Regions from separate parts of the Homo sapiens genome. Here region 2 is linked to region 1. Evidence: promoter capture Hi-C in human tissues and cell types (Jung and others, 2019). All regions are on one chromosome and are shown on one strand. Each heading gives the region's core, a stretch centred on a gene start or on the middle of the fragment in contact. The rest is flanking DNA. Distances are from core to core; before and after follow the strand shown. Region 1 holds the start of KRT5 (keratin 5). Region 2 holds the start of KRT7 (keratin 7).

Region 1 (4,092 bases), core at 1,593-4,092:
AATGTATCTTCTACTAAAGCCCTACAGATTGGAGTGGAGGCTCTGAGGAGAAGGAATCCTGGGCTGGGATGGCAGGATTTGCCTAACCCTTGTTCCACGAATGGATACCACCCTCTCCCTGGTGTCTGTGAAGGGCTTCTCCATGTATGAAATGCTGACCAGGTCCTACATTCCCTGCACAGCTCTGCGAGAGAGGTCAGGGCAGCCAGCTTACTGTCCTTTCTCTGATGGGGAGAGCAGCAGGGCGGGCCCTGCACTGTCTTCTGCTGACAAGGAAAGCAGCACCCAGAGGAGAAGCTGAGCAACATGTCCCACCAAGCCTGGGAACTGCCTCTGTGGGGTGCCCAGCAGGAAAGCTCCCTGGTGAGCCTAACACAATCCCTCCCTTCCTGCCACAGTGAAATTCCAGGCTGGGGTGGGACTCTCCCGAGCTGCAGTGGTGCTGGTGCCTGGCTCCCCACCAGGAGCGGCTCCATTATTTATACCTGTCCAGGTCTGGCATTGAGGGAGGGGCTGCCCTGCCTGCTCATGGGAGGATTCCCACGAAGCTCGGATAGAAGAGTGCTGCTGCTTCTCCCATGGAGCACCCACATGCTCCCTGCTCCCATGGAGCACCACACACTCACCGTTGGTCCCTGGCACATGGATCTGAGCTTGGCACACTCTAGCAATCCTCAGACTAGCCAGAACGCATTCCTGCTCTGCCAAGTCCTCTTTCTTCACAACACAGCTGGGAGGAGAATGAATGGGGAGAAGAGAATGTCCCAGTGTCTCAGGAGGGGTGGGGCTTCCCTGAGGGCAGTGAGGTCTGTACCCGGGACCTGTGAGTGTATGTGGTGGTGGGGATATACCCCGATATCGATCTTTGAGTGGAGCAGGAGCATCCCACTACGAGTCCTCAGACACTTGCTTCAGGCTTGGATCTGTTCTGTTCTATCAGGAGCCGAGGGTCCCCTGGTATGTCTCAGGCCTCCAGGACACTCACATCTGTTCTCCAGAAAGCAACCAAATGTGAAAATGGTGAGCTCAGCACAATTCATCTCTGAGGGTCTCAGAAATGCTCCAGCCAGGGAGGCCACCCAAACCATTTTGCTCAAGACCTGTAAGACCGGCTCCGGCCATTGGTCTGTCTGCCGAGATTGACCTGTCAGCTGCTTGCTCATCGCAGCCCTCTGGTGAGAAGTCACTGTTTCAGCTGATCCTCAGCACCAGGGAGTCATTTTCCCACTGCCTTGGCTTCCTTGTGGCCAACCGCAGGCCCTGGTGAGAGATTCCTGAGCCTGGGTCTGGTCCTGTTCTTCTACTCTTGAGAATATAGCCCCTCCTCCCTGAGGCTTTGAAGCCATCCCCATTGCATTCCTACCTCCAGCCTCGGGCCACAGGGCGCCCCCGAAACTCTGAACAGCCCAAGCACTGTCCTGCCTGAGAGCCCTGCTTCTATTTGGGGGACGGCAGAGAGGTGGCCCCACTCAGATCTGCTGCCAAAAAGAGTGGGTGTGGTTTAGAACAGACGTGTGTTAAAACCTCATCAGAAACCCCCTTTCCTCCACCTGGTGCCACAACCCCCCAGACAAGTTTTGCAGAGGGGATCTCAAAGGGCCCTCCCTAAAGCAGCTGGCAGATTGTCATGCCAGCTGCCTGGGCCCACAGGCCTGCTCTGGCTAGCCTTTCTGGCAGGACAATCCATAGACTTAGAATCCCGTTTTCCATTGCCTTGGCCCTGAAGGAGGCTGTGGGCTACAGCATAGAGAAAGCAGAGCAAGTCCCGCTGCTTGGAACAGGGTGGTTCGCCGTTATAACAGGCCGTCAGACTCTCAACATGTTCCTGATGAGATTAGAAGCTCCTGCAGGTATGTGTTTGTGGCGGCCTTCAGCCTGTATCAACACATACGATGACTCATTTCTTCCCTAGTGGAATAGAGCTTGCTGGAACACACCTGGGGGGCTGGGGAACCGGCAGAGTAGCTACCCCCAAAGAGAGACGCTATAGCCCATGAGTCTCAGGGTTTTTTTTTAAGGGATTGCATGGGATCCCCGGGTTTCCTAAACCCCCCACAGAGTCCTGCCCAGGCCAAAGAGCAAGGAAAAGGTCAAAGGGCAGAAAAAATGCTGAGTTAGGAGGAGCTATGGAAGGATAAACCTGGCCTTAAAGAGGTCAAAGTGGTTTATAGGGGGCGCTGAGGGCTTCCCACATTCTCTGGCCTAAACCTTGCAGGCAGATCTGCCCAGTGGGCTCTGGGATAGCTGTGCCTTCCCTAAGAAAAAAATTGTGCAGAAAAGGATGAAACTCTATTTTCCCTCTAGCACATAACCAAGAATATAAGGCTACAGATTGCCTTTCCCAGAGGGGAAAACCCTGCAGCAACCTGCTGCCTGGAAAAGTGTAAGAGCAGATCACTGGGGAATCGTTTGCCCCCCGCTGATGGACAGCTTCCCCAAGCTGGAAGGGCAGGTGCTCAGCATGTACCGTACTGGGATGGTTGTCAATACTCCTGGTCCTGTAAGAGTCCCCAGGACACTGGCCATGCCAATGCCCCCTCAGTTCCTGGCATCCTTTTTGGGCTGCTCACAGCCCCCAGCCTCTATGGTGAAGACATACTTGCTAGCAGCGTCACCAACTTGCTGCCAAGAGATCAGTGCTGCAAGGCAAGGTTATTTCTAACTGAGCAGAGCCTGCCAGGAAGAAAGCGTTTGCACCCCACACCACTGTGCAGGTGTGACCGGTGAGCTCACAGCTGCCCCCCAGGCATGCCCAGCCCACTTAATCATTCACAGCTCGACAGCTCTCTCGCCCAGCCCAGTTCTGGAAGGGATAAAAAGGGGGCATCACCGTTCCTGGGTAACAGAGCCACCTTCTGCGTCCTGCTGAGCTCTGTTCTCTCCAGCACCTCCCAACCCACTAGTGCCTGGTTCTCTTGCTCCACCAGGAACAAGCCACCATGTCTCGCCAGTCAAGTGTGTCCTTCCGGAGCGGGGGCAGTCGTAGCTTCAGCACCGCCTCTGCCATCACCCCGTCTGTCTCCCGCACCAGCTTCACCTCCGTGTCCCGGTCCGGGGGTGGCGGTGGTGGTGGCTTCGGCAGGGTCAGCCTTGCGGGTGCTTGTGGAGTGGGTGGCTATGGCAGCCGGAGCCTCTACAACCTGGGGGGCTCCAAGAGGATATCCATCAGCACTAGTGGTGGCAGCTTCAGGAACCGGTTTGGTGCTGGTGCTGGAGGCGGCTATGGCTTTGGAGGTGGTGCCGGTAGTGGATTTGGTTTCGGCGGTGGAGCTGGTGGTGGCTTTGGGCTCGGTGGCGGAGCTGGCTTTGGAGGTGGCTTCGGTGGCCCTGGCTTTCCTGTCTGCCCTCCTGGAGGTATCCAAGAGGTCACTGTCAACCAGAGTCTCCTGACTCCCCTCAACCTGCAAATCGACCCCAGCATCCAGAGGGTGAGGACCGAGGAGCGCGAGCAGATCAAGACCCTCAACAATAAGTTTGCCTCCTTCATCGACAAGGTGAGCTACGATCTTTTGTAAAAAATCACTGTGGGTCTGAAATAAATGCCAAAGAGAGAGAAAGAAGGAAGATGTTTTGGCTTTGTGCAAATACTTTTATAGTTGTACAGTTCTGTGTTTCCGTTTGTTTCTGTGCCCTGGATTTGTGGACACGTTCTGAATTAGACTGGCAGCTGGGAAGGGAGAATTATTTCTTCCCATTCAGAGGTTAGCTCACAAGGGCCTCTTAACAACTGTTGGACAGAGAGATGAATTTCATGCCATATATAAAGGGGCTGACTGTACAGGAAGGTAGACAAGTGCATGGGCAGCAGCCTGAGTGCCTTTGCAGCCACCCCTGAGCCGGGACACACTCCAAGCAGCACTCCTAGTGCTTTCTGTGCCCTGGATAGGTGTCCTATCTCCCCCTGGAAAAGTGAGTTTGGGTGCCTCAGTCTGCACCTCCCCTCCTGGGGCCCAGGGCCAGGCACAGTGCACAGAAAAGCTTTAGAGGGACGGAAAGAGGTGGGAGGCACCTTAGTGAGTTGATCATAGAACATGAAATCCAAGTTTCTCTATCTTCAAACCCTGCTCCCCTCCAGGTGCGGTTCCTGGAGCA
Region 2 (4,092 bases), core at 828-3,327, 290 kb after region 1:
CTCCAGGCGGCCCCCATCCACCTGCAGTGCCTCAAGCTGACCCCGAAGGCCAGCAATCTGGGCCTCAAAGATGTCTGGGAGGCGGCTGCTCTTGGCCGACTTCTGCTCCTGCAGCAGCGTCCACTTGGTCTCCAGCAGCTTGTTCTGCTGCTCCAGAAACCGCACCTAGAACGGGCGAGAAGGAGGAAACTCAAGAGGAGCCAGAGCGTGCCACCCACAGCGGGATTGAGGAACATCATCTTTAGCCACTTAGCAGAGCCATGCTCCCCCTGGCTGTTTCCCTGCCTGGGGCTTCCAGCCCTCTCCCTTTGGACTCCAAATCAAGTGTCCTACAGAGTGATCCAGGAAGCAGGTCTGCCTGGTGCACGGAAGTGCCCCGTGGTTGACTCTCGACGAATGTGCTCCAGGGCCTCCTCTCCACTTCACTCCCCATCACATTACAGGTGGTGTTCTCCACCTCCCTATCTGAACAGCCACCTCTTCCTGTCAATGGATCATGAGGATGACCAGGCCCAGCCCTCCCTTCTGTCTGGGACCTCTTCTCTTCCTTCCTCAATATCCTTTCTCTCCTTCCCCTTTCTCCAGCAAGGCCTCAGGACAGTCAATCCATGGTAAAATGACCCCAGCCTGGAGCCCACAAAGGCCCTTAAGGAGTAGCCGGTATGACTGGAGGTGGGAGGCAATAGAGGCCTCTGCAAAACCAGCAGCTCAGGGCCCCAGGCCCTGGGGACCACAGAGAGTAAGACGGTGCAGCTCAACACATGGGGGAACCTGGGCCTGGAGCAGCTTGGGGAGGCCCCTATGAAATCTAAAAGACCGGTCTGGGTGAATGGCGAAGGAAAGGAGAACGTGAGGGAGGCGGGTGTGGGAGTACACTTCGTCTAAGCTGAGGAAGGGGGCCCTGGCCAGAACAGCCCAGCAGGGCCAGCCCTGAGTTCCTGGCTTTGGCAGCACTCCTCCCAAACCCACCAGTCAAGTCTGCCCTCGCCCCCTCCAGCGGCCCCATGTGTGGCGGAGGCCAACAGCCAGGAAAAATATCTCCAAAATGGACCCCTTTTTGAGGGCCCTCTCTGCCACTCCCTGCCCCCAACTGGGCTGTCTTCAAGGGCAGGTATAACCTCTCCTCCTGCCACCTAAGGGAGGCTGGAGGACCAGGCAGGTGGGGGAGGGGAGGGGCGGGAGCCCCCCCCCCTCCCCCGCCCCACCGACTGCCGCTCTAATCTCCAGCATCTGCATCCGCATCAGCATCTGAGAGAGCCTGGGTCTCCCCCTCTGGGAAGGGCGTGCCATCCAACTCCATTCCTGACTCCACACGGTCCTCTCTCAGGGAAAGGGTCCCAGAGAGAGAACTCCTGGCCTAGGCCTCTGGAACTCCTAGTCCGAGGCAAAACTGGTCCAGGTGACCAACAGGCAGCCAGCGAGGGCAGCCCTACAGGACTCAGGCCCGCACTCCGGGAGGAAAGGGAGGGGCAGCTGGGCAGCTTGCTGGAAGGGAGGGCTTGGAAACCGAGGGGATAAAATAGCCACGGGGTTCATGCGAAGGAGGAAGGACCCCCAGATCGTGTCCCCAACACTGGCGGAAAGACAGAAGGGCGGCAGTGCTCCCCAGCGCCTGGCCCGCGCGCAGGCAGGGCTAGTTAGGGCGGCTGGTGTGGTCTGGAGCGCGGCTCGAGGAGAGGCGAGGTCCAGTCCCGCTCACCTTGTCGATGAAGGAGGCAAACTTGTTGTTGAGGGTCTTGATCTGCTCGCTCTCCTCCTGGCGCACCCGCTGGAGGGAGGGGTCGGCGTCCAGCCGCAGCGGGGCCAGCAGGCTCTGGTTAATGGTGACCTCGCGGATGCCGGCGCCCACCGGGCCCCCATAGGCAGAGCGCACGGCCACGCGCGGCCGTGAGGCGCCGAGGCCGTAGAGGCTGCTGCTGCCAAGGCCGCCGGGGCGAGCGGAGCTCAGGCGCACCTGGGCGCCGCGGCCCGAGAAGGCGGCTGAGCGCGAGGTGAATACCGGGGAGCTGAAGTGGATGGACATGGTGGCTGGGCCGGGATGGACCTAGCGGCGGGCGAGGAGGAGCGCGCACTCGCTGACCTCGGGGACACTCCGCGCCTTTTATCCGCGGGAGCGGGCGGCTGGGCTTCCACAGGTAGGGGCGGGGCTGCCGCGGGCCACCTTTCTCTGCTGCCAGGCCCCTCCTGGGGCCGCCCTCCGCCCTCTGCCCGCCCGCCCCGCCGAAGCCCAGGCTTTCAGTCCAAGCAGGGATGGTCCGGAGTAGGCAGGAGCGCCATCCCTAGACGGCCGCAGAGAACAGCGGGGGACCGCAGTTCCAGCCCATTGGAAACGGACTCAGTGAGGGAAGGCTTCCCGGAGGAGGATGCTTGGAGAGGGAGTGAAGAACCTAGAGATCCCTGAGGCCCAAGCAGAGAGACCCAGTGGCAAGAGACTGGGGGAAGGGGTGGGCTGAAAAGTTCCAACCCAGGAGTCAACGCCCAGACGTCCCCATCCTCCAGGCTGCTGAAGCCAGAAAGGCATTCCTTACCGCTCTCCCTCACACCGATCCAGCTCCTCCTTGAGAGATCAGCTCACTTGTTCAGGGGTCTGACCCCTCCTGGCCCAGCTAGTTTCCCTGGCTGCGTTCCTTCCTACTTCATTTCCCATAGAAACTAGGCTGAGAGAGACACACGACCGACCGCACCTCTGGCTCCTCCCCTCCCCACTCCAGTAGGCATCGGAATCCCAGGGACCTTGGGAATGCTTACCCTGGACCCTCACCTCCCGGACCCTCCACTCATATTCCTGCCCATTTATTTTATGCGTCCCTGTACAGGAAGGGGACACTTGTGTGTATTTGTGACACTTTGTGGATGTGTGGACACTTTGTGGATGTGTGCACACGCCTGCAGGCCTCTGGGCTCTGCTGTGCTCACACCCCCAGGCATATGCACCCGCATGTCTGAGCCTGCTTACACAGATGGGGGTCTGTGCGTGCATCCTGGGCGAGGGGGCAGCTGTGGCTACACAATGGCACACATTTTCATGCCTGCCTGAGTGCGTGTGCTTCTGTTAGCACTCAACTCTCCTCCCGCTCCCTCCACCATTTTCCTGTTTAAAGGCCCTCAGCTTTCATCATCTTTCTCCCGTGAAGCCACCACCAAACAATTCCCAGCAGTTTCAAACCCAGTCAAGAGGGGTAATCCTAGTGCTGGAACCGAATACCGGACAAAGCCTGAGTGTTGGCCTCACTTCCCGGTAGGGCCAGCCATGCTTGCCACACCCTGTTCTCAGGCCTGGCTTCCGTCTGCCCTTAGCCCACCTCTAGCCCCTCCCAATAAGCTGGCCAGGTTCGTTACCTCAGACCTAAGCCCTTGGGGGAGACAAGGGTGGGGACGGAATGTCCTTCCTGCTTGGCCATTTCAGTTAAAGCACAAGGACTTCCAGTGAGGCTAAAGACTGTCACTCCTTCTCAGTGATCTTAGTGAAGGCTCACCAGCCTCCCTCCCTGCCTCCCCTCCTGACCCTAGCCATTGGTGTTGGGTCAGCTCAGGCCAGAGGCGGAGGGGTGCCCAAGGAGACCTGCTGTGGTATCGGCTGTGGAGCATGTATGTGTGCATAAGACCGAGAGAGATTCGACCTGGAATTGTGCCTGGTTGTAGCTTGAAGAGCATACGGATTACCTGGTCCTGTGATATTTGCATTCATAGGAATCTCACTGCCCTCCTTCCCCAACGCCCAAGCAGGCAAAAAAGACCAATTGTTTAATTTACACACACACACACTCCAACTTCCTCACCCCTCAGGGCTCATCTTCAACTCTGTTTTTACCACTGCCTCTCACACCAACGCCTGCTCTCCCATACCTCCACTAACAAGTTCTGCCTCTGGCCCTCTCATCCGTCCCCATCTCCAGCCCCCTACAGGATCTGCGCTCTGGAGGCTGTGCCCACCTAGACCAGGAGTTCCTGCATCCACTTCTCCCCTAAAGCCTGGCTGGGAAATCTTTGTCAGGGCACTGCTGTTGCCTTGAGGCCCTGGACATGTCACTGCCCCTCCCTGGGCCATGGATTTTTCACCCAAGATGAAATCTCCAGATTCCATACCTAGAG

Evidence for each region. Contacts are between HindIII fragments. The study calls those that stand out against the background at their distance.
Region 2: the fragment with the promoter of KRT7 here is called in contact with the fragment with the promoter of KRT5 in region 1 in 1 of the 25 tissues and cell types used here (spleen).

The regions. Positions count from the first base shown.
Region 1 is chr12:52,519,144-52,523,235 of GRCh38, reverse strand. KRT5 (keratin 5) reads left to right here and starts at 2,842. Exons shown (of 9, transcript NM_000424.4): 1 at 2,842-3,494; 2 at 4,076-4,092. The coding sequence starts at 2,940. RefSeq lists enhancers at 1-935, 3,755-4,092. The HindIII fragment of the contact is 8,601 bases long and covers 1-4,092 here.
Region 2 is chr12:52,231,228-52,235,319 of GRCh38, reverse strand. It overlaps KRT7 (keratin 7), which reads right to left and starts at 2,077. Exons shown (of 9, transcript NM_005556.4): 1 at 1,700-2,077; 2 at 1-165. The coding sequence starts at 2,023. It also overlaps the pseudogene TMT1AP1. RefSeq lists an enhancer at 516-1,491. The HindIII fragment of the contact is 11,918 bases long and covers 1-4,092 here.